Regions from separate parts of the Homo sapiens genome. Here regions 1, 3 and 4 are each linked to region 2. The links are contacts of gene promoters, found by promoter capture Hi-C in blood cells and fetal thymus (Javierre and others, 2016). All regions are on one chromosome and are shown on one strand. The core of a region is centred on a gene start or on the middle of the fragment in contact, and the rest is flanking DNA. Distances in the headings are between cores, read along the strand shown. Region 1 overlaps TAB3 (TGF-beta activated kinase 1 (MAP3K7) binding protein 3). Region 2 holds the start of TASL (TLR adaptor interacting with endolysosomal SLC15A4). Region 3 overlaps TAB3 (TGF-beta activated kinase 1 (MAP3K7) binding protein 3). Region 4 has its middle 27 kb from the start of NR0B1.

Evidence for each region. Contacts are between HindIII fragments. The CHiCAGO score rates a contact against its expected background, and 5 or more counts as called.
Region 1: a fragment that was not itself captured here is called in contact with the fragment with the promoter of TASL in region 2 in 1 of 17 cell types (neutrophils); the score reaches 13.1 in neutrophils.
Region 3: a fragment that was not itself captured here is called in contact with the fragment with the promoter of TASL in region 2 in 3 of 17 cell types (neutrophils, monocytes and naive B cells); the score reaches 6.6 in neutrophils.
Region 4: a fragment that was not itself captured here is called in contact with the fragment with the promoter of TASL in region 2 in 1 of 17 cell types (M1 macrophages); the score reaches 7.9 in M1 macrophages.

Annotation. Positions count from the first base shown.
Region 1 is chrX:30,837,455-30,843,096 of GRCh38, reverse strand. It overlaps TAB3 (TGF-beta activated kinase 1 (MAP3K7) binding protein 3), which reads left to right. Exons shown (of 11, transcript NM_152787.5): 9 at 48-131. It overlaps TAB3-AS1 (TAB3 antisense RNA 1), which reads right to left. Exons shown (of 3, transcript NR_145449.1): 3 at 4,024-4,077. Among named protein-coding and RNA genes, the nearest start is that of TAB3-AS1, 5.7 kb to the right of the region's middle. The HindIII fragment of the contact is 3,399 bases long and covers 1-3,044 here.
Region 2 is chrX:30,575,728-30,581,989 of GRCh38, reverse strand. It overlaps TASL (TLR adaptor interacting with endolysosomal SLC15A4), which reads left to right and starts at 4,224. Exons shown (of 3, transcript NM_025159.3): 1 at 4,224-4,352; 2 at 5,124-5,238. RefSeq lists an enhancer at 3,993-4,202. The HindIII fragment of the contact is 8,514 bases long and covers 1-4,859 here.
Region 3 is chrX:30,857,908-30,863,800 of GRCh38, reverse strand. It overlaps TAB3 (TGF-beta activated kinase 1 (MAP3K7) binding protein 3), which reads left to right. Exons shown (of 11, transcript NM_152787.5): 5 at 4,123-4,314. The coding sequence starts at 4,213. Among named protein-coding and RNA genes, the nearest start is that of TAB3-AS1, 26 kb to the right of the region's middle. The HindIII fragment of the contact is 2,081 bases long and covers 3,420-5,500 here.
Region 4 is chrX:30,279,515-30,284,958 of GRCh38, reverse strand. No RefSeq gene overlaps it. Among named protein-coding and RNA genes, the nearest start is that of NR0B1, 27 kb to the left of the region's middle. RefSeq lists cis regulatory regions at 556-702, 793-1,533, an enhancer at 683-1,882 and a silencer at 2,566-2,667. The HindIII fragment of the contact is 2,928 bases long and covers 1,900-4,827 here.

The DNA.
Region 1 (5,642 bases), core at 96-2,595, 260 kb before region 2:
AGGAAAAAAGAGTTCTTAAATGCCTGATGAATTTACTTTCTTTATAGGAAACTTTGATCCAAAAGCCATGAATAATTTTTATGACAACATAGAACCTGGCCCAGTTGTACCACCCAAGCCATCTAAAAAAGGTGAGTATGAAAAATGTCACAAATACGATAGAAATAAATGTCAAAATAATTTGGGATTTCACATTTATCTGAAGAAATTTCCACTAGAGGTTAAGTTGTTCAGCATAAAGTTACCATATTTTTATTATTTTTATTTTTTTGAGACAGGGTCTCATTCTGCTGCCCCAGCTAGAGTGCAGTGGTGTGATCATGGCTCATTGCAGCCTCGACCTTCTGGGCTCCAGCGATCTTTCTGCCTCAGCCTCCCAAGTAGCTGGTGTGTGGCATGGTAGGCACACACCACCATGCCCAGCTAATTTTTTTTTATTTTTTGTAGAGATGGGATCTCACCATGTTGCTCACTGGTCTCAACAAATTTACCATATTGGTGTTATAATGTGGCAATAATGAAATGTCCCCAAACTTTAGTTTTTAAAAAGTACTGAAATTAGTAACTCTTAGAATTACTGTCAGAGGTAATTTGATGGACTATATAATTTTTTACAAACAGAAGCTGAAACACTATATTACATAGTTAACATTATAAATTTACTTAGCATTGTAAAAACTATAACCCTAAAAGATAATTCTCATAAAATAATGAGGATTTTAAAGGTCTAATGTGAGAATAGAAAGTTAGATTTGCAATAGACTTAAGATTATTTTTCAGACAACAAAAGAATACTTGTGTACTCAAAAGGGGAGCATAGCAATTGGTAGCGACTAGGTATTTTCCCATCAAGAACAAAAGAAATCCTATATAACCAAGGTTTGAAGGAATCATTTTTGGATAGTTGTTACATAAAAATGATTTAAAATTAAAGATATCAAACATGTTCTTATTTTTATGTAGCAAATGTTTAATTGGCATTTCTGTATCTTAAAAAATTAATTTTAATTGAATTTACACGTGCAGTCATTTAAGCCAGACGGATGGATCACATGAGGCCAGGAGTTCGAGACTAGCCTGGCCAACATGGCAAAACCCCGTCTCTACTAAAAATACAAAAATTAGCCAGGCCTGATGGCGCGCGCCTGTAATCCCAGCTACTCAGGTGGCTAAGGCATGAGAATCACTTGAACCCAGGAGGTGGAGGTTGCAGTGAGCCGAGATCGCGCCACTGTACTCCAGCCTAGGCGACAGAGACCCTGTCATTTATTCATTCATTCATAAATAAGTAGTCATTGAATGTAGATTAACTTTCTGCCTCATTCTTAATATTTTAATCCTTTTTGCCTTAAGCAACTCAAGGTAGATTGATCATGAAGACACATAGAACAGTGGAGAATGCCTTATTTTTGAAAAAAATTACCAGAGAGTATAACATTTAACATCTCATCAGACTTAATTAAAAGAATGTATAAATTCTATCTAAATAATACTACCTGACCTAATTACTTAAATTTTGGTTGAATAGTTTTCTACGTATATTAAGCTCATTACAGAGTGTTTTTTTTTTTATTTATAAGTTGCAACATAGTATCTGTTCTTCTTTTTATTGTTTAATATTACCATCGATGTTTCATCTGATCTACATTTAAAAACAGCCTATTGATTTCTTTTTTTTTTTTGAGATGGAGACTCTCTCTGTCACCCAGGCTGGAATGCAGTGGCACTATCTCAGCTCACTGCAACCTCCACCTCCCAGGTTCAAGTGATTCTCCTGTCTCAGCCTCCCAAGTAGCTGGGATTACCCACCACCATGCCCGGCTAATTTTTGTATTTTTAGTAGAGACGGCGTTTCACCATGGTGGCGAGGCTGGTCTTGAACTCTTGACCTCAAGTGACTCAGCCTCCCAAAGTGCTGGGATTACAGGCATGAGCTACCGCACCTGGCCAAAAAATAGTCTATTGATTTCTAAAAATGGCACAAAGAATCATCTTAGTGGATGACTGCCGAGTGCCAGATTTGGCACTTTGGCAGCATCATATGCAGTTTCTTGCCGAAAGTCACTGAGGTGTATAGTTAGCATTGATCAATTTAGTCTTTTGGGTTCATAAAATCAGTCTTTAAACTCGATTTTGCCTGAATGTCTACTAAAGAAGTATCGCCAGACAAACTTTAGTTCATTGATTCAAAGAGCTGTCTTAGAGCAATTGCCCTGTCTAAGGGAGTGCATTGGAAAGTTTTTACCCTGGAAACAGGACCAAGTTGATTAGAAATGGTGGAAAACACGTGCATCATGAGCCATCCCTCAGCATAAACTCCCTATAGGTGTGGTGTATTAGTCTGTTTTCACGCTGCTGATAAAGACATACCCAAGACTGGGCGGGCCTCACAATCATCACAGAAGGCAAGGAGGAGCAGGTCACATCTTAAAGAGAGCTTGTGCAGGAAAACTCTCCCTTATAATAACCATCAGATCTCGTGAGACTTACTATCACAAGACCTGCCCCCATGATTCAATTACCTCCCACCAGGCCCCTCCCACAATATGTGGGAATTCAAGATGAGATTTGGGTGGGAACACAGACAAACCATATCATGCGGTCTGAGGGACCCACCATAAATAACAAAGACACTGCCGTTACTCAGGAAATTTCAAGGTTTTGAGCCAGGGACAAAGCCAGACCTCTGTTTGGGCAAGGCAAAATTCTTTCCCATGCGATAGTTAAAGCAGTGCTTAGAAGGAAATTTATAGCTTTAAATGCTCATGTAAGACAGGAATATCTAAAATTCTACCTTAAGAAACAAGACAAGAACAAAGTAAAAACAAAGTAGAAGAAAGGAAAGTCAATGAGATAGAAAACAGAAAAAGTTAACAAAGCAAGTTTGATCTTTGAAAAGATAAACAAAATCAATAAACTTCAAGGTAGACTGATCTGTAAAAAAAGAGAACACAAATTACCACAATCAAAAGTGAAAGATGGGTTATCTATTACAATGATAATGATAATAAGGGAAAGTGATGGACATCTTTATGCAGTAAGCTTGACACCTTAGATAAAGTGGACAGATTTCCTGAACAATATAATCTACCCAAACTGAAAACAAGACAAAACAGTAAATATTAGTAAGTGTGTGTTTTTTTAATATATATTATATATATATATATATATATATATATATAATATATATATGTATAAAGAAACTGAATCCACTATCAAAATTTTCCCCCACAAAGAAAACTCCAGATCCAGATAGATTCACTGGTGGGTAAATTCCACCAAATATTTAAGAAAGTAAAAATACCAATCTTAAACTCTTTGAGAAAATACAGGAGGGAACGCTTCCCGTATTTCTTTTTTGTTTTTTCATTTCATTTCCTTTTCATGTTACTGAGAGGAAGTTGCGGAGATTTTCCATATACCTCCTGCCCCATTATCAGCATCCTACACCAGAGTGGTACGTTTGTAACAATTGATGAACTTATATTGAGACCTCATAATCACTCAGAGTCCATAGTTTACATTAGGGTTCACTGTTGGTGTTGTACCCCATCTTTTTTTATGGCGCTAGCAGAACTCTGATTCTAAAACCTGGTAAAGACATTATGTATCTGCCCCTCACAAAAAGAAAACAAAATTTCAGATCAATAAACTTCATGAACATAGAAACAAAAAATCCATAATTCTGTTTTCTATCTCATTGACTTATAGTCACTATATAAAAAAAGATAATACATTATGACCAAGTTGAGTTTAGCTTAGGAATATAATCTTGGTATAGGCATTAAAAAACCAACCAGTGTAATTTACCATATTAAACAAAGGGAGGAAAAGCATGTGATCGTTTCACCAGATACAGGAAAAACATTTGACAAAATTCAACAGCCATTCCTGACAGACAAAAACTTTAAACAAATTAAGAATAGAAAAGAACTCTTTCAGTCTCATAAAGGGCATCTTTCAAAAACCTTTAGCTGCCATTATTACTGAATAATGCAATTCTGAACTTACCAACATTGGGAACAAGGCAAGGATGTCTATTCTCACCACCTTTATTCAACGTTGTACCTGGAGTTCCTAGCCCATGCAGTAAGAGAGAAAAAAAAAAAGCATAAATATTGGAAAAGAAGAAATAAAACTATATATACTACAGATGACATAATTATTTTTAAAATCCTAAGGATACTGGAAAACAACTAACTATTAGAACTAATAAGTGAATTTAACAAGGCCTCAGGATGCAAAGTCAATATATAAACATGTTTTTACAATATCAGTAAACACTTGGAAAATAAAATTCAAGAGAATTTCATTTACAATACCATCAAAAACCATGTAACACTTAGGAATAAATTTATCCAGAGATGTATACATTGAAAACTATAAAACATTGTCAAAAGATATTTAAGAAGACCTAAGTAAATGGAGTGATATACCATGTTCATTAACTGACTGAATCAATATTTTTGAGATACCTGTTCTTACAAGGTTGATATATAGATACAGTGTAATACCAATTATAACCCCATTAGGTGGTAGTGCATTTTTAATTAACAAACTGATTATAAAATTCATATGGAAATACAGAAAGTCCTAGAACATCCAAAACAATCTTGAAAAAGAGCATCCAGAAGTCTTAGACTGGCTCAGTGCAATGGCTCACACCTGTAAACCTAGCATTTTGGGAGACCAAGGCAGGAGGATCACTTGAGCTCAGGAGTTCGAGACTAGCCTGGGCAACATAGACCTCATCTACAAAAAAAAATTTAAAAATTAGCCAGACATGGTGTAATTAAAAGTGTATGAAAAGTGTGTTAGTGTAGAGCTAATTTAAAAATAGCTCATTGCAGCCTCACCTATAGTCCCAGCTATTCTGGTGGCTGAGGCGGTAGGATTGCTGGAGCCCAGGAGGTTGAGGCTGCAGTGAGCCGTGATTGCAGCACTATACTCCAGCCTGGGTGACAGGCTGTCTCCAAAAAGGAAAAAAAAGTCTTAGACTAACCAACTTCAGGACTTACTATAAAGCTACAATAACCACAGTGTGATATTGGTATAGGAATAAACAAATAGATCACTGGAACAGAATAGGGAGCCCAGGTTTATACCCCCCAGTCACACTGTCATTTGATATTTGACAAAAGCACCAAAGCAACCAATAGACAAAGGAACATTTTTTTCAACAGGCAGAGCTGGAAGAACTGGATATCCATGTGGAAGAAACACACAGTCTGATCTCTACCTACCTCACATCATACACAAAAATTTGAGATAGCTCATACACCTAAGTATAAAAGTTAAACTATAAAGCTTCCAGAACAGAATATCTTTGCAATTTAGGTATAAAAGTTTTTGGACAGGTCACAGGAAGCAATAAAAAGAAAAACAATTGATAAATTAGTCTTCATTAAAGTTTTACACTTCTGCTCATCAAGTGACACTATTAAGAAAATGAAAAGGCAAACCACAGACCAGGAGAAAATATTTGTAAAATATGTATCTGATGAAGGATGGTATCCAGAGTATATAAAGAATTTCTACAACACAGTAATAAAAAGACAACTCAATAAAAAAGGGTAAAACACTTGAACAGACACTTGACAAAGGAATATATATATGAAAGACCATGAAAAAAGAAATATCAA
Region 2 (6,262 bases), core at 2,975-5,474:
ATACTTATATATATACCTTTCTCTGGTTATGGAAAGGCAATAATGGATTTTTTTTTTTTGAGATGGAGTCTCGCTCTGTTGTCCAGGTTGGAGTGCAATGGCGCGATCTCCGCTCACTGCAACCTCCACCTCCCAGGTTCAAGCGATTCTCCTCCCGAGTAGCTGGGATTACAGGTGCATGCCACCATGCCCGGCTAATTTTTGTATTTTTAGTAGAGACAGGGTTTCACTATGTTGGCCAGGCTGGTCTTGAACTCCTGACCTCAGGTGATCAGCCCATCTTGGCCTCCCAAAGTGCTGGGATTACATGTGTGAGCCATCGTGCCCGGCCAGGCAATAATGGTTTTATATGGGACTGGAAATTGGCAAGTAGGATGTGACAGAAAGACATATTGTTGTGGAATTTAGAGTGCTACTAGGAGCACTATGAGGTGAATAGAGGGTAGCCAGGGTGGAGGAAACCTGGTGAGGATTGAGAGTGAGCTAGGAGGGATGCTATCATAATGGAAATAACTTGGAGGGTGTTTTGTACAGCAGGAAAAGTAATTGAATAATAGGAATAATGTCCATTTAGAGGCACAGATATCGAGGCAATAACTTTTACCTACTATTCAGCAGATTAATAGAAAATCATATTATAAGATTTCAGCTACAAGGGATATAATTCTATTTTATTTTAACCAGTAAAGAAAAAGCTGTTTAAAGCTGATTTTGTATGCTCAGGTTTTATCAAATGAGAAATAGTAGAAATAGTAGGTTAGCTTGGCATAGTGCCCATTTTTTCCTTACAGAATCTTTTTTCTGCAAAGGAGGTTTTTCCATCAAAGGGGTAACTTTAGAGACAAAATCAAGAGTGGGCATAATCAAAATTCTGCATATTGTATTTGAATAAAACAGTAAGTGTGACTTAAGACAACGTGGAGAAGATGGAATCACCCCACAATGGTTATTTCATTGTACTTCCAGGCGAGTTCTTGGTAACCCACCATAAAGTGTTTCTGGAGGTAGGTAAGACCTACTCTACGGTGTCTCATGACTGTGGATGAAGCAACACTAAAGTGAAATAAATCAATGTTTGGCCCTACAGGTGCTATGGTCTCTTGATCACAGCTAAATCCTTGATGAGCTAAAAATGCCTGAAGACATCACTGAACCTGATTTTGTAAGATTACACTGTAACTGAATTTGCCCCTGGGGCAATGAGTCTGGTGTTTCCTGTGATGGTAGGTCAAGTCAGATTCAGGACTAGTTGAGAAACTGTCCTTATCATGGCTCATACATGAGAGCATGCCTTCTAAAGTGGATTTAAGTAATGTTTCATGAAAAAATAATGCAGAAAATCATGACTAACAAAAATAAAAATGCTAGTATACTTTAAAATATATGACATTTTAAGATAAGTCGTTGAACAAAAGTAAACAAAATCAAACCCATTAAGTGGAAATGTTCACCTCTTAAGAGTTTGGAACTTAGCTTTGTTTTTTGTTTTGCTTTGTTTTGTTTTGTTTTGTTTTTTGTATCCATAGAACTTAGTTTTGATTGGAGTTAGGTAGAAAAAGACAGTGAAGTAGTTATGATTTGGGCAGGCTTATTCTTTGTTGGTTAACTTGAAGCAGTCAGGGTAAACCAGATAAATGATTTTGAAACCCTTAATTTTTCTGCTTTTGGGCAAGAAGAACTGACCCATTTGCAGATAGACTTGTCTGTCCTCCAGAAAAGACATAGATTATAATACATTTGGGCCGTACAATCAAAGTTAAATATGACTTAAGAATACTAGTTTTTAAAATGAAAAAGTAATACATACACACAGAAATTTCAAAAGGGTATAGAATGAAAAATGAGTCTTGTTCCTGAAACACAATTGCTTATTTCTGATTTCTTGTGTGTAGCATAAAAAAAGAAATATTCTAGAAAGGCTATAACAAATGCTGGTGAGGATAGGGAGAAAAGGGAACTCTCATACACTGTTGGTGGGAATGTAAATTAGTACAACCACTATGGAGAACACTTTGGAGGTTCCTCAAAAAACTAAAAATTGAGCCACCATAAGATCCAGCAATCGGACTGCTGGGTATCTACCCAAAAGAAAGGACATCAGTACATTGAAGAGATATCTGCACTCCTATGTTTGTGGCAGCACTGTTCACCATAGCTAAGATTTGGAAGCAACTTCAGTGTCCATCAACAGATAAATGGATAAAGAAAATGTGATACATATACACAATAGAGTACTATTCGGCCACAAAAAAGAATAAGATCCTGTCATTTGCAACGACATGGATGGAACCAGAGGTCATTATGTTAAGTGAAATAAGCCAGAAACAGAAAGTCAAACATCACATGTTCTCACTTATTTGTGATATCTAAAAATCAAAACAATTGAACTCATGCACATAGAGAGTAGAAGCATGGTTACCAGAGGCTGGGAAGGGTAGTGGAGGGCTGGTGGGGCAGGTAGGGATGGTTAATGGGTGCAAAAACTAGTTAGAAAGAATGAATAAGACAAAGTATTTAATAGCACAACAGGGATACTGTAGTGAATAATAACTTAATTTTACATTTTAGTATAACTAAAATAGTATAATTAGATTTTTTGTAACACAAAAGATAAATGTTTGAGGGGATGGATACCCCATTTTTCATGATGTAATTATTATGCATCATATGCATGTATCGAAACATCTTATGTACCCCATAAATATATACACCTACTGTATACCTACAAAAATTAAAATACAAAATTTTAAAAAGAAATATTCTATTACATAAGCATGTATATACATATATTCCTTAAAAATACAAACTGGAAAATGAGTTCTTGCTAAACAATATATGTTAGAGATCTTTTTTTTTCTTTTTTTTTTTTTTTGAGATGGAGTCTCGCTCTGTCACCCTGGCTGGAGTGCAGTGGCACAATCTCAGCTCACTGTGACCTCCACCTCTCGGGTTCAAGGGATTCTCATGCCTCAGCCTCCGAGTAGCTGGGATTACAGGTGCCCACCACCACGCGTGGCTAAGTTTTGTATTTTTAGTAGAGACAAGGTTTCACCATGTTGGCCAGGCTGGTCTCAAACTTCTGACCTCAAGTGATCCACCTGCCTCGGCCTCCCAAAGTGCTAGGATTACAGGCGTGAGCCACCGCACACAACCTACATAGGATTTTAAGTATGCATACGTTCTCATTTACTTGGCCAATATCTTATTTATGGATATAATTTTTTCTAGTCATTTATTTTCTCAAGCAATGCTGCAACAAATATCTTTTCACATAAGTCTTTGTGTACAAGTGTAAACATATAGCTTGGACAAATTTATAAAAAATACAATTGTTGGGTCAAAGGGTATGAATATTTGTATTTGAGAGATACTGGGAAATTGCCCTCTAAATATGTTTACAATCTCATCAGTAGTGTTTGAGAGTGCTTGTTTCTTCACAACTTTGCCCACACCATGTATTATTGTTTTGACCTTCGGTATTTGGAGAGGGAAAACTTTTTTCTTTTTTTTTTCTTTTGAGACGGAGTCTCGCCCTGTCGCCCAGGCTGGAGTGCAGTGGCGCGATCTCGGCTCACTGCAAGCTCCACTTCCCGGGTTCACGCCATTCTCCTGCCTCAGCCTCCCGAGTAGCTGGGACCACAGGCGCCCGCCACCGCGCCCGGCTAATTTTTTGTATTTTTAGGAGAGACGAGGTTTCGCCGTGTTTGCCAGGATGGTCTCGATTTCCTGACCTCCTGATCCACCTGCCTCGGCCTCCCAAAGTGCTGGGATTACAGGCGTGAGCCACTGCGCCCGGCCGAGAAAATTTTTTTCATTTACATTTTTAAAAATTATAAGTACCATTGAGAAATAATACTTCTTAAAAATTATAGATTAGTAACGAAACAGAATTTCCTAAAGTCATATGTGACTTTGGCTTTCTTTTGGGTGAAGGATCCCAGATAATGTACTTTTCTAGAAAGGAAATTTAATTCTGTTGCTAGGGTTCTTACAAAATGTGTAACCATAAACTATTTTAATAAGAGACAGTTTCGTAGATAGGTTTCATTTTTCGAAAAAGGGGAAGAAACACCATTCTGTGGCTTGATGTGGCTTTGTCAGTTACTGCCTCCCCACCTCCCGGGACTTCCCACTGCCTCTTTAGCACAAATCGGACTTGAACAAAAACAACTCTTTTTCCATGGGACCAATTATAAAAAGAATGGCTTTGCACTGAGCAGCTCAGTCTACTGGTCTCATCAGTGAAAGGCTTGTGAAAATTTCTGGAAAGAGCATTGGCTGGCTTGTTCATCTCTCTGTTTGGTCAGTTGCTGTGTTTCTGCCGGATCAGATGAGCAGATTGGTTAGTGAAGGTAAGAAAAAGAAAGCAAAGGACCCTAGAACTCCGCTATTATTTTTTGTCATCTGTCTTCTCACGCTTTCTTAGCCCTTTATCACGAGAGCGCTGATCCATTCTTATGACATCTAAAATGCTTTTCTAGCTTACCATATCAGAGACAAGTGGGAGTTTAAACAAGCATTCAGTGGAGTTGAAAAATAAAGAGAAATTAAGCCCAATACTTCCTTTCCTTACCTCCTCGTGTCCACATTCTAAGCATTTCTAAAACACTTATATTTTTACCTACAATTTTTGACTGATCTGAGCAAATATTTATTGTGTTATTTTTGCAGTCCTCTTTCACTAATTGCCACACTGGTTTAGCTTCTGCATTTTTAAAAGAAGGCCTAAAAACCTAAGCAGGGTTTTGCAGGGACAACACAGCTCTTGAATTCAGTTACGGTGATGCAGTTTTAGAGACGAAAACAATCACAGTCCTTTCCAATTGGATTTGACTCTCAATTATTCAGTTCAGCAAGCTTGTGATAGTGTTTTTCTGTGTGGCAGGATGTATTCAAAATGAATGCGATCTATAGTGAGGATGCTTTTCGACTTTCATCTGGGTGATTTGGGGAAAGCTTCCCTTTTGGTATTAAAGATAGCGCATGTACGAGTGGAGTTTTGTTTGAATTATCTTTAGACTCGCTCAAACATTCTTTGTCTTGCGCATATGAATCTGTGCTTAAATATAGACCTGGTTTGGACAGAATATTTATATTGATATTTTATAACATTTCTTGCATAGGTCAGTGTGAGAAGAAGATTGTTTCTGAGCTTGAGAAGCTTCTGGAGGATTGAAGAGTATTTGAAGTCTGTGTCAAACATCCATATCATAAGTGGAATTTTGGAGATATTCAAAGGTAGTACACTAATTCTATTATCTCAGAGCAAAATGATGTTTGAAGTATTTATATCAAGTCACTGAGACATTTCTCATCTCATATGTAGTGATTATTTTAGATATATAAGATATTGTCCCTCTAGGCTCTTAATAAACATTATACAATGTAAATATGCCTTCATTAACTAAATATGGTTTTTTCCCCCTCCCAATTTTTATTTAGAAATGTTTCAAATCTATATAAAAATTGAAAGAATAGTACAACGAACACCCATATTTTCATCATGTGTATTAATCAGTGGTATCTTTTTGCCACATTTACTTTCTCTCTCGCTTTGTCTTTCTCTGTCTCTGCCTGTCCTTTTCTCTCTCTCTATATGTGTATATATATATTCACACACACGCATGCACATATGCACAGTTTTTTCCCTGAATGGTTTGAAAGTATGTTGCTGACTTTAGGACACATGTCACCCCTAAATTCTTGAGCATGTATCTCCTAAAAATAAAGGCAGTCTTCTATAACACATTACAACACCACGGAAACATAACATCAACACAATACTATTATCTAAGATGTGATACACATTCAAATTTTCCTAATTATCCACATGTCCTTTAGAATCTTTTTATGTTTTAAATCCAGGATCCAATCAAGAATCTTGCATTGCATTTGTAGTTGACATGCCTACAATTAAGTAAATGTTAATGAAATTGGCATAATTAACATGATTAACAATGATTAACAATTATAACACCAAAGAAATTTATATCAGTACAATACTATTATGATAGGTTTCTTATTTTTTTAGTCCTCTCATTTTGCATCAAAATACATTGAAAGTGATTCAAAAAATGATCCAAAAGGTTTAATTTTTCAATTTATATCAAGAAGGAGTATAAAGAAAAATCCAAACTATGATAAAATATATTTACTAATATTTCTGCACCAAAGTTTACATTTTCTGAACTAAGAAAATTCACACATCAGATCGTCCTTGGAAGTAGCCATTAACTTTGGTCATAAGAATCTAAGCAGAACC
Region 3 (5,893 bases), core at 3,211-5,710, 280 kb before region 2:
TAGGCCATTCTTATGTCACTGTAAAGAAACACCTGAGGCAGGGTAATTTATAAAGAAAAGAGGTTTAATTGGCTCAGGATTCTACAGGCTGCATAAGCATGGCACCAATATCTGCCCAGCTTCTGGTGAGAGCCTCAGGAAGCTTACAATCATGGCAGATGGTGAAGCAAGAGCAGGCATGTAATATGGCAAAAGCGGGAGCAAGGCGGGTGAGGGAGAGGTCCTAGAGTTTTAAACAATCAGATCTTGAGTGAATGGAACAAGGACTCACCTAGGATGGTGCTTAACCATTTACAAGGGCTCTGCCCCTATCATCCAGTCACCTCCCATCAGGCCCCAACTCCAACATTGGGAATCACATTTCAACATGAGATTTGGAGGGGACAAACATCCAAACTGTATCATTGACTTAATTTATTGGCTGGAATATTTTCTGTTTGTAAACAGAAAGCCTCCCAGTGAACAAAATGGAAGTTGCTTTTTTAAAGTATTTTAACATGATATAGTTATCAAAAAATTAAGTTTGAGAGTGTTATATATTACTGTGAAATACTAAATGATTATTCATGTCAGTTAGCGCTGATGTGAGTGAATGTTTGTACAGGGCAGAGTGCTAACCACTATTAAGATTACATACATAATCCCTTAAGAAGGATATGTGTTTACCAGTTTAGATTCCTATTTGTTGTGAAAAGTCAGTCTACTATTAATCATCTTTTCAGATGGTAGCCATTTTTGTAAGCTGTTGGCTTCCATTTGAAAGATGCTTTAACATGTTTCTTCAAAGGAAAGTATTTATAACCATTTTTTAAAAAGGCATTTTCTTCTTGTGTGTTTAAACAGCTAACTTATTTGTACAAGAATTATTTTTTCCTTCCCTCTCAGTCTTCCACCTCACCACACACCTTTAGCTCCCTATGTGAATGATAAACTTAATGAGGGTTTGCTCCTTAGCCAGTCAAAGAAAGGCACTCATCATTAGAAATGTCTCTGATACCTACTAGTGACACAGTGGAAAGAACACAGACTTTGGAGCAGGCAGGCGTGGATTTGAGTCATGATTCTGCCATATGTTCATTCTTTGAGTTCATTTTCTTATTTGTAAAATGGAGATAATCATAACTACCTTTGAGGGCATATTATTAGCTACCAGTAAATGGTAGCTAATTATAGTGATAAAAATAATGGTAACCTTGGATTCAGTAGCATCTGAGGTTTCTGAAGGCTCTGACAAAGCTAGGTGAGAGCTGGCCGCTCTCAAGATCTCTGAAGTATATGGAGCCTATGCTTTTGACACCTGAAGCCTGTCTGTCCGTGTTTTGATTCTTCTTGCCTTTTCTTCTAGCTCATAAAAAAGACAATGGTATTGCCCTTGTATTTTAAAGGCTTGTAATTAAGGTTGGAAAATGAATAAAACCGTTTTTGGGAGCCATTGGGAAAGCTGGAGTTAGGCCTTTGGCTGCTTCAGAAGCTCTTTATTGAAGGTTTGATTAAATAGCCATGAAGTGTTCTGAATGTGGTTTAGCACCTAAAATACTGGGATCACTTCCTGTTAGGAAAACTGTTATTTCTGTAAATACAAGCCGATTTGATTAGTTAAGGTCATCCCTACCATTAAATTCAGTGAATTCCTTTTTTCTCCCCATTTCTCCTAATAAATATTTATTGAACAGCTAGCCTGTGCTAGGCCATGTGCCTACTCGATTGTATACCCTCAAAGGAGATGTTGAATTAAGGAATCTAAGAGTTGTAGGTAGTCGCCTATTATTTAAATGAAGATCCTAAAGCCTTAGAGCTGCACTGTCCAGTAAAGTAGCCACTAACTACAGGTGGCTACTGAGCACTGGAAATGGGACCAGTGTGAATTAAGATGTGCTGTAAGTATAAAATATACACTGGATTTCAAAGATATCATTTGAAAAATATATATAAAATAACTGATTTTATGTAGATTACATTTAAAACAATACTTTTGACATGGGTTAAATGTTACAATTAATTTCACCTATTTCTTTTTAAGTTGGCCACTAGAACATTTAAAATTATACATATGACTCACATATTTTTTACTGGACAATGCTGCCTTAGAGCTTCAGTGACTTGGTAGGATTATACATCTAGCTAGGACTCCTTTGGCCAGTGGAAATTATAAATTGCTTTACTGTGAAAATGGAAGATAGATAATTCAAACCCCATTCAGAAAAAAGTTAAATTAACACTAAGGACTTTGAAATAATTTACATTTTAAATTAAATCCTGGATTGTTAATCTGGTAGCATCTCTTAGTATTTCAGATTTGGAGTTTTCAAAAGGGACAAACTGGAAAAATATACCCATTGATTTAGAAGCGTAAACCAATTTTTTTCCCTATGTGTTCACAAATTGCCCTATATAGGTGACTCCACTCCCCTGACATTTGCTGGGTGGGGGGATGGCAGGAGATGGGGGGACAAGAGTCATCTAAAAGGCTTGTCTATATATTTTTCTTTGAATATGAATAGTGTTTTATCCAAATCTATCTTATTAGGTAGACTGGTTTAGTATAGTGAAATTGATTCATCATTTAACAGATACTTGAGTAGTTGGGCTCTGTAAATACAGTGGTGAACAAGGCACAGATCTTGAGTAGAGCTACAGGCTTTTGTTTGGTTAGCTGGTTTTTGTTGTCATTTTTACTTTTTATTTGGAAATAATTTTAAACTGACTAAAAATAGGAGAAAGAACACCGCATACCCTTTACCTAAATTTACCTATTAACATTTTCCTATTTGCTTTATAGTTGTCTGTGCACACATGCATGTGTGCATGTACACATGTTTGTATGTACACATGTACATATATTTTTTTCTGAACTGTTTGAGAGTAAGTTGCATGCCCTTTACCACTGAATGCTTCATTGTCTAATACCGAAAAATAGGAATATTCTCTTATGTAACCACAGCACAGTTATCAATTCAGAAAACAGGAAATTCAATACATTTAACATTGATAGAATACTTCTAATCTACCATCAACATTTCACTTTGGTCAGTGGATCCACTCATTTATTTTATTAACAGTTTTCCCTTTTAGTATAGGATCAGGATCAGGTAAAAGATTTAGTTGTCATGGCTCTCTCTTTTTTAACCTGGGACATTTTTCAAACCTTTGTCTTAAAATGACATTTCCTTTCCCCTTCGCTTTTTAATAGAAAAGCCCAAAATGAGAAATGTTCTATTTCCTCATGATTAGTTTCAGGTTATGCATTTCTGACTGTAATACTATAAAATGATGTGTTTTTCTCATGGTGTCACATCTGGAGGCCTGTGCAGTCCATCTGGCCCTCATTGGTGATGTTCATCATTTTGATCACCCAGTCAAGATGTTGTTCAATTTGTCCACTGTATAATTAAATTTTTCCCCTTTGCAACTAATAAGCTTTGGGTACACACTTTTAAAACTGTGTGTATTTCCTACTCTTCATCCAGATTTTCCCCTAGATTTAGCATCCATTGATGATACTTGCTTGAAGTAGTCTATACTATGATGGCTGCAAAATGATTTTTCTTCCAGCTCCAGCACTCCTGCATGTTTACCAATTGGATTTTACTGTAAGCAGGGACTTCCCTTCTCCCCTATTTTTGTAGGTATGTATTTAGCTATCTTCATTGATACGGACACACGGCTCCCTCTTTTCTACAGGTTTATAACTCATTACTGTCTTTTATTATTTTGGTATTCAAATTGTTGCAAATGTGGCCAGTGAGTGCACCTCTTCAAGTTGACTTCCAGGTCCTTATATGTTCCCATCACTTCTTGAGTACTTCCTCACTGTCTTTAATAATGAGCTATATTCCAGGTGGGGCTTCAGGTTTTTGTTTTTTGTTTTTTTTTTTTAAATAGGTGAGACCTTTAGGTGCATAGATGGTTTCAGTATAGCGTGTTTAGTGTTTCTGTGAGGGTAAGCACAGCCTGCTTTGGCAGCATTGTGGAGGGGAGAGGCAAGGCAGCAGGACTAAGAAGGAGTGTCAGTGGAAGCCTCCTTAGAGGAGATGCCACCACTACTGAGATGTATAGGATCAATAGGAATAAAGTAAAATATGTAACTAGACTTAACCATACTTTTTTTTTTTTTTTAAATAGAAAATGACTGTGGTGCTAGAAGATCATTACTTTTGGAAAGCCGGTTAACATCCATTTCCTAAGAGAAACTTGGCCACCATTTGCTCTGGCATGGCGCAAAGCAGCCCACAGCTTGATATTCAGGTTCTCCATGATCTTCGACAACGTTTCCCTGAAATTCCAGAGGGCGTGGTGTCTCAGTGCATGTTACAGGTAAGTTACCTACCAGTGATAGTGATATTAAGTTCTAGTTTTTCCTATTAGAGCTGGTGATGTGTGATGTAATTAGAACCCAGGTATGTTTTCTTGTGTGTGTGTGTGTGTGTGTGTGTGTGTGTGGAGCAGGATTTCCCTCAACCTTGGCACTGTTGACAGTCTAGCCTGGATAATTCTCTGTTGTGGGAGTCGGCCTTGTGCATTGTAGAATTACTAAACGTTCTAGGCATCCGAGGCCTCTACCCAGTAAATAACAATAGCATCCCCGCAGTTGTGACAACTGAAAATGTCTTTAGACATTGCCAGATGTCTCATGGGAGGCAAAATCTCCCACCATTGAGAACCACAGATTGGAGAAGAAAATAAAAGCATGTAGCAACAAGAAAAACAGATTCTCCTTATGTTTCACTTTTTGAAGTTTTTGGGTTGTACTATCAGTCCCTAAGTCCTTAGAGTTGAATTTTGAATCTTAAATGTATCATTTTAACTTCTTAGACTACACACTTTTGAGTCTTTTTTTAAAAGTCTTTAGATAATCCACTCCCTGTTTTTCTAATGCTAAATCCTTACCGATATCTAATTTTAAATGTAAGCCCATTTTCACTCACCTTACCTTTGTTTTGCTGTGTGTCTTACATTGAATTAAATCTCATCTCGAAGACAGAATGTGTCTTTCCCACTCAGGGGACAACAAACAGAGAAGTTGGCCTACCACTTTCCCTGTACCCCATCTCCCTGTCCCACTGTCCCCTTGTTATGTTTTATATAATCCTTCACAGGATCTTAGTGTTTTGGGTTATGGCACTTACCTATTTGCTTAACTTTGGGCAGCAGTACTTCTACCATGCTCACTGGTCTTCCTCACACACAGTCAGTACTCATGTTCAAACTCTACCTTATGGCAGTGTGAGCAGCTCAGGACATAACCTAAACCTATATACAGGTGTGGTTAATTAAAAATAGAGACTCAGAGAACAATGATGGTAACAGAGGTGCTTCCTTTGTTTGCAAGCCCTTTACTAGTCTAGAGCTTTGGGCTTATGGTTTTTGTGTTACAGCTTGCCTTTGCTTTTTCTCACACACATTCCTAGCCTGAATCTCAGCTCTTTACTTTGGCCCCATTTTGGTTTCTGGTAGAGCAAAGACACTTCCCACCGGAGTGAAACCAAATAAGGATGAAGCTTTTAGTTTAAACCACTTCCTAGCAATCACCTTCCTCACCTATCTTAGGGCCCAACCTAGCCCTGACCTTGTTTTATTTCACTTAGCCCTTTATTACCTGCATTTTTCATTACCATTTAACTAAACTGAAGAAATAGAACTTCAAATTCAGCTCAGTGAACATTTGTTGATAATTACACTGTCCTAAGTCTTTCACTTTTTTCTTCCTTTGGGATTAATAAAATATATTGGTATGGAGATTTACCACCTACTGGCTCTGGAAAACTGCTTTATTCACATTAAAATGTACGAAGCTCAGCAGTTTGCATTTAATGTGCAAGCCTTAGAGCCTCACTCTGGGGTGTATCATCCTCAATTTAGGATCACTTTTTAGGAATATGATGCTTTTTTGCCT
Region 4 (5,444 bases), core at 2,114-4,613, 300 kb after region 2:
GAAAAGTGATTGGGAAATTCAATCAGTAGACCTGGACCGGGGAATTTTTCCCAGATAGAGATTCAGGGTCTAATCAAGAAATGTCTTGTACCTCAGCAGGATTTCATAATTGCCACAGATCGGTGGCTGCTAGGGGTTTTTCATTTTTCTCTATTCTAAATAAAAGTTTTTATGACATTTATTCTGCCCCTGATTTATCATTACATAACCAAAGTGTATCTGGATCATATGGAGAAGAGTGCACATCACTCAGAAGTCCTGGATGTTCACCTGGATGAAGTGAGTGAAATAGACTTTCAGTTGCTTGAGGAGGGAAGTGAATGTGTTCCATATGAGGGAAGAAAAATGAATATATAGTGGCAGAAGAACAAATTCCAAAGAGACTGTCTATCTCTTTACAAATTAGGGCCTTCTTCTTCCCAGACACATAAATAGGATATATCACTGAGCATAACTTCTTACCTTGTAGTTGGTGCTCTATTGGATATACAATGGAGTTCTAGACAATGAGATATGAACAGAAGTGATATGTTCTATTTTCAAGCTAATACATACAGACCATATACTTGATATCCTCCATGTTTTTCCTCTTCCTGCTGGCTTGATGCAGATAAGCATGGGTGTCTTGGAAGCCACTTGTTTAAGAGGGATTGTAATCAGTCCTGGATGTAGACACATACAGCATGAGAATTCTTAGAAGTTTTGGATTAACTTCCATATGTTGTAGGGAGGAATCTTACTCTTTAAGCTCAGATATTCAAGAAATATTCACTTTTTGTCCCGCTTGAATAAAATTAAGCCAGAATTTAAACCCAAGCTTCAGCCCACCAGGCTGGCGGGAAATGCAATTTCAGCCTTTATTAAGGCTTGGTCAGAGTCTCTTCAGGTCAGATAGTTTCACTGTTTCTAAGACATGTTTGTGACTCACTTGGTGAGTCTGGGAGCCCCTGTCCAGATTCCCTGAGCTCATCACAAGCCATCCCTCTGAAGGTTGTCATCTCCTTGGAGGACAGCCTCTGAACTATATATAGGTTCCCTTACTCTCACCAGGACCCTCAACCTGTGGTCCTTTTCCAACCTCAGCCCCAAATTTTAATCTCTTTCTTTTTCTTCCCTTCTCTGCTTCAAAATCTATCTCCCTCTATCCCCATGTGAACTGTGGAACAGGCAAAATGATCATTTAATAGATTGAGATTTTACAAAGGACAGGGAGAGCCAATGACCTTAGCCATTCTATCTCTCTGTGTTTTGTAAAAATCCATGAGTCACAGTGACAAAGGCTGACCAACAATTTGAAATGACAAAGGAGAAAAATATTGCTGAAAACATGACTCATACAAATGAATCATCATGGCACAGCAACATAAAACTCTGGAGTCTTTACTCAAGGGGTTGCTAGGGCTAGTTTTCGTGGTCACACTTCAGCTAATGCTCATTAAGTGATCATGTGGAATATTGACCATTAATGTATAAATGTTTTCATTAACCCAAAACTGATATGTAGTGACTATTCATATGAATTGAATGCAATTCTGGACATTAACTTAAACAAACAATCGATCTAGGTTTTTGGATGTTTAATCAAATATTGACAAATTTTCTGAAGGATATCGATGACTAAACTTTGTGTAAGAACTCTGTGAGGCCTATAGAAAAAAATTTGAATGACATATGAAAAGAGAAACCAATAAGCTATGAGCTCAAAATAAACACTATGGAAGCAGAGATAGGCAAAAAGCACTAAAGATTAAAAAATAGGAATTAAGCAAAATAAGAGGAAAGCATCCAGCAAATACCAATAGTCAATGAGCCATAATAATTACAGACAAGCATATGGTGAGTATGTGAGCGAAAACTGGGAGCACTGAGATGTACAATTTTGAAGACAGGAATTAAGCTTGACGAATAAATATTTAGAATGGTGTAATGACAGAAAAGGGTTAACTTCATTCAATCTCTGAGATACCTGCTCTGCAATGAGAGCTGCTGCCTGTGAGACACAAGAAGCAAAACTCCACAAAGAAAATAAACGATTGTACAATTCAGCAATGGCACTGGTCTCACTGAGCCCCTAGGATCAGATCTCTGTCAGGAAATGGTTCCTAGTGCTTTGAATACTCAGAATAAATGTGTTCCTGTTTTATGAAGAATTTTAAAAACATGCTGAGCTGATACATGTTGAGGTAGAACATCTAGGTTTTCATACACAGGCATACCTAAGAGATATTGCAAGTTTGGTTCCAGACCACTGCAATAAAGTCAATATTGCAGTAAGGTGAGTCACACAGATTTTTTTATTTCCTACTGGATTTTAAAATTGTACTTACTGTTGTTTATTAAGTGTGCATTGTGTCTCAAAAACAACATGCACACCTTGCTTAAAAAATGCTTTATTGCTAAAAATGCTAATGAAGATCTGAACCTTCAGTGAGTCTTCATCTTTTTGCTGGTGGAGGGTCTTGCCTTCATGTGGATGACTTCTGACTGATCAGGGTACTGATTGCTGAAGGTTGGGGTGGCTGTGGCGATTGCTTAAAATTTCTTAGAATAAGGCAACAATAAAGTTTACAGAATTGATTGACACTTCCTTTCATCAAATATTTCACTGAAGCATACAGTGCTGTTTCATAGTATTTTACCCCAGTAAAACTTCTGTCAAAATTGGAGTCAATCTTCTCAAACCCCGCTGCTGCTTTATCAACCACATTTATGGAATATTCTAAACCCTTCATTGTTATTTCAATAATGTTCATAGCATCTTCACCAGGAGTAGTTTCCAACTCAAGAAATCACTTTCTTGCTCATCCATAAGAAGCAACTCCTCATCTGCTTAAATTTGATCATGAGATTGCAGAAATTCAGTCATATCTTCAGGTGTCTAATTCTAGTTCTCTTGCTATTTCCACCACATTTGCAGTGACTCACTCCATTGAAGTCCTGAACCCCTCAAATTCATCCATGAGAGTTGGAATCAACTTCTTCCCAACTCCTGTTAATGTTGATAATTTGACCTTTCTTCATGAGTTATGAATGTTCTTAATGGCATATAAAAAGGTGAATTGTTTCCAGAAGATTTTCAATTTACTCTTCCCAGATCCATCAGAGAAATGATAGCAGCTATAGCCTTAAAAAATGTATTCCTCAAATAATAAGACTTGAAAGCCAAAATTACTCCTTGATCCCCGAACTGCAGAAGGGATGTTGTATTAGCAGGCATGAAAACAACATGAATCTCCTTTAAAAAGTCAGGAAACAACAGGTGCTGGAGAGGATGTGGAAAAATAGCAACACTTTTTACACTGTTGGTGGGACTGTAAACTAGTTCAACCATTGTGGAAGACAGTGTGGCCATTCCTCAGGGATCTAGAACTAGAAATACCATTTGACCCAGCCATCCCATTACTGGGTATATACCCAAAGGATTATAAATCATGCTGCTATAAAGACACATGCACACGTATGTTTATTGCGGCACTATTCACAATAGCAAAGACTTGGAACTAACCCAAATGCCCATCAATGATAGACTGGATTAAGAAAATGTGGCACATATACACCATGGAATACTATGCAGCCATGAAAAATGATGAGTTCATGTCCTTTGTAGGGACATGGATGAAGCTGGAAACCATCATTCTCAGCAAACTATCGCAAGGACAGAAAACCAAACACCGCATGTTCTCACTCATAGGTGGGAATTGAACAATGAGAACACATGGACACAGGAAGGGGAACATCACACACCGGGGCCTGTCATGAGGTTGGGGAGGGGGGAGGGATAGCATTAGGAGATATACCTAATGTAAATGATGAATTAATGGGTGCAGCACACCAGCATGGCACATGTATACCTATGTAACAAACCTGCACATTGTGCACATGTACCCTAGAACTTCAAGTATAATAATAATAATAATAATAATAATGATAATAATAAAAGAAAACAACATGAATCTCCTTATACATCTCCATCAGAGCTCACAGGTAACCAGGTGCATTGCTAACGAGGAGTATTATTTTGAAAGGAATCTTTATTTCTCAGAAGTAGGTCTTAACAGTGAGCTTAAAATATTTAGTAAACTATGCTGTAATGAGATGTGCTGTCATCCAGGCTTTATTCTTCCATTTATAGAGCACAGGTAGAATAGAATTAGCATAATTCTTAAAGGCCCTGGAATTTTCAGAATGATAAATGAACACTGGCTTCATCTTAAAGTCACCAGCTGCATTAGGCCTCAACAAGAGAGTCAGCTTGTTTTTTGATTCTTTGAAGCCCGGCATTGAGTTTCCTCTGTAGCTATGAAAATCCTAGATGGTATCTTCCTCTGAAAGAAGGCTGTTTCATCTACAAAGAAAATCTGTTGTTTAGTGTAACCACCTTCATCATCTTAGATCATATCTAGATCCTCTGGATAACTTGCTGCAGCTTCTATAAGAGCACTTGCTGCTTCACCTTGCACTTTTATGTTACAGAGATGACTTCTTTCCTTGAACCTCATGAATCAGCCTCTGCTAGCTTCAAACTTCCTTTTGCAACTTCCTAACCTCTCTCAGCCTTCATAGAATTGAAGAGTTAGAGTGTTGCTCTGGATTAGGTTTCGACCTAAGGGAATGTTGTGGCCGGTTTGATCTATTCAGACCTCTCAAACTTTGTCCATATCAGCAATAAGCATGTTTCACATTCTTATCATTTGTGTATTACCTGGAGTAACACTTTTGATTTCCTTTAAGAACTTTTCCTTTGCATGCAAAACTTGGCAAACTGTTTGGCACAAGAGGCCTAGCTTTCAGCCTATCTGAGCTTTTTCATGCCTTCCTCACTAAGCTTAATCATTTCTAGCTTTTGATTTAAAGTTGAAAGTCCTACAACTCTTCTTTTCACTTGAACACTTAAAGGCCACTATAGGGTTATCAGTTCACCCAATTTCAATATTGTTGTGTGTCAGGGAATAAGGAACCCTGAGAAGAGGGAGCGAGATGGGAGCAAGGGAAACAACCAGAGCACACACAACACTGATCGATTAAGTTTGCTGCCTTATATGGGTGCAGCTTGTGGCACTCCAAAACAATTTTAATAGTAGCATCAAAGATCACTGATTGTAGATAACCATAACCAATATGATCATAGTAATAAAGTTTGAAATATTGAGAAAATTACCATAAGGTGACACAGAGACCTGAAGTCAGCACATGCTGTTGGAAAAATGGTGCTGATAGCCTTGCTCAACACAGGATTAACACAAACCTTCAATTTGTAAAAAACACAGTATCAGCGATGTGCAATAAAGTGAAGCACAAAAAAACAAGATATGCCTGTGTCTACATTCTCAGGAAATGCATTACTCTTACCTACCTCACCCCACCTTGAATCCGTTAGATAATAAGAAAATGTATGTATGGTTTTGGTAAGGTCCAAGGTGTTTGTACTTAATTATGATTCAATA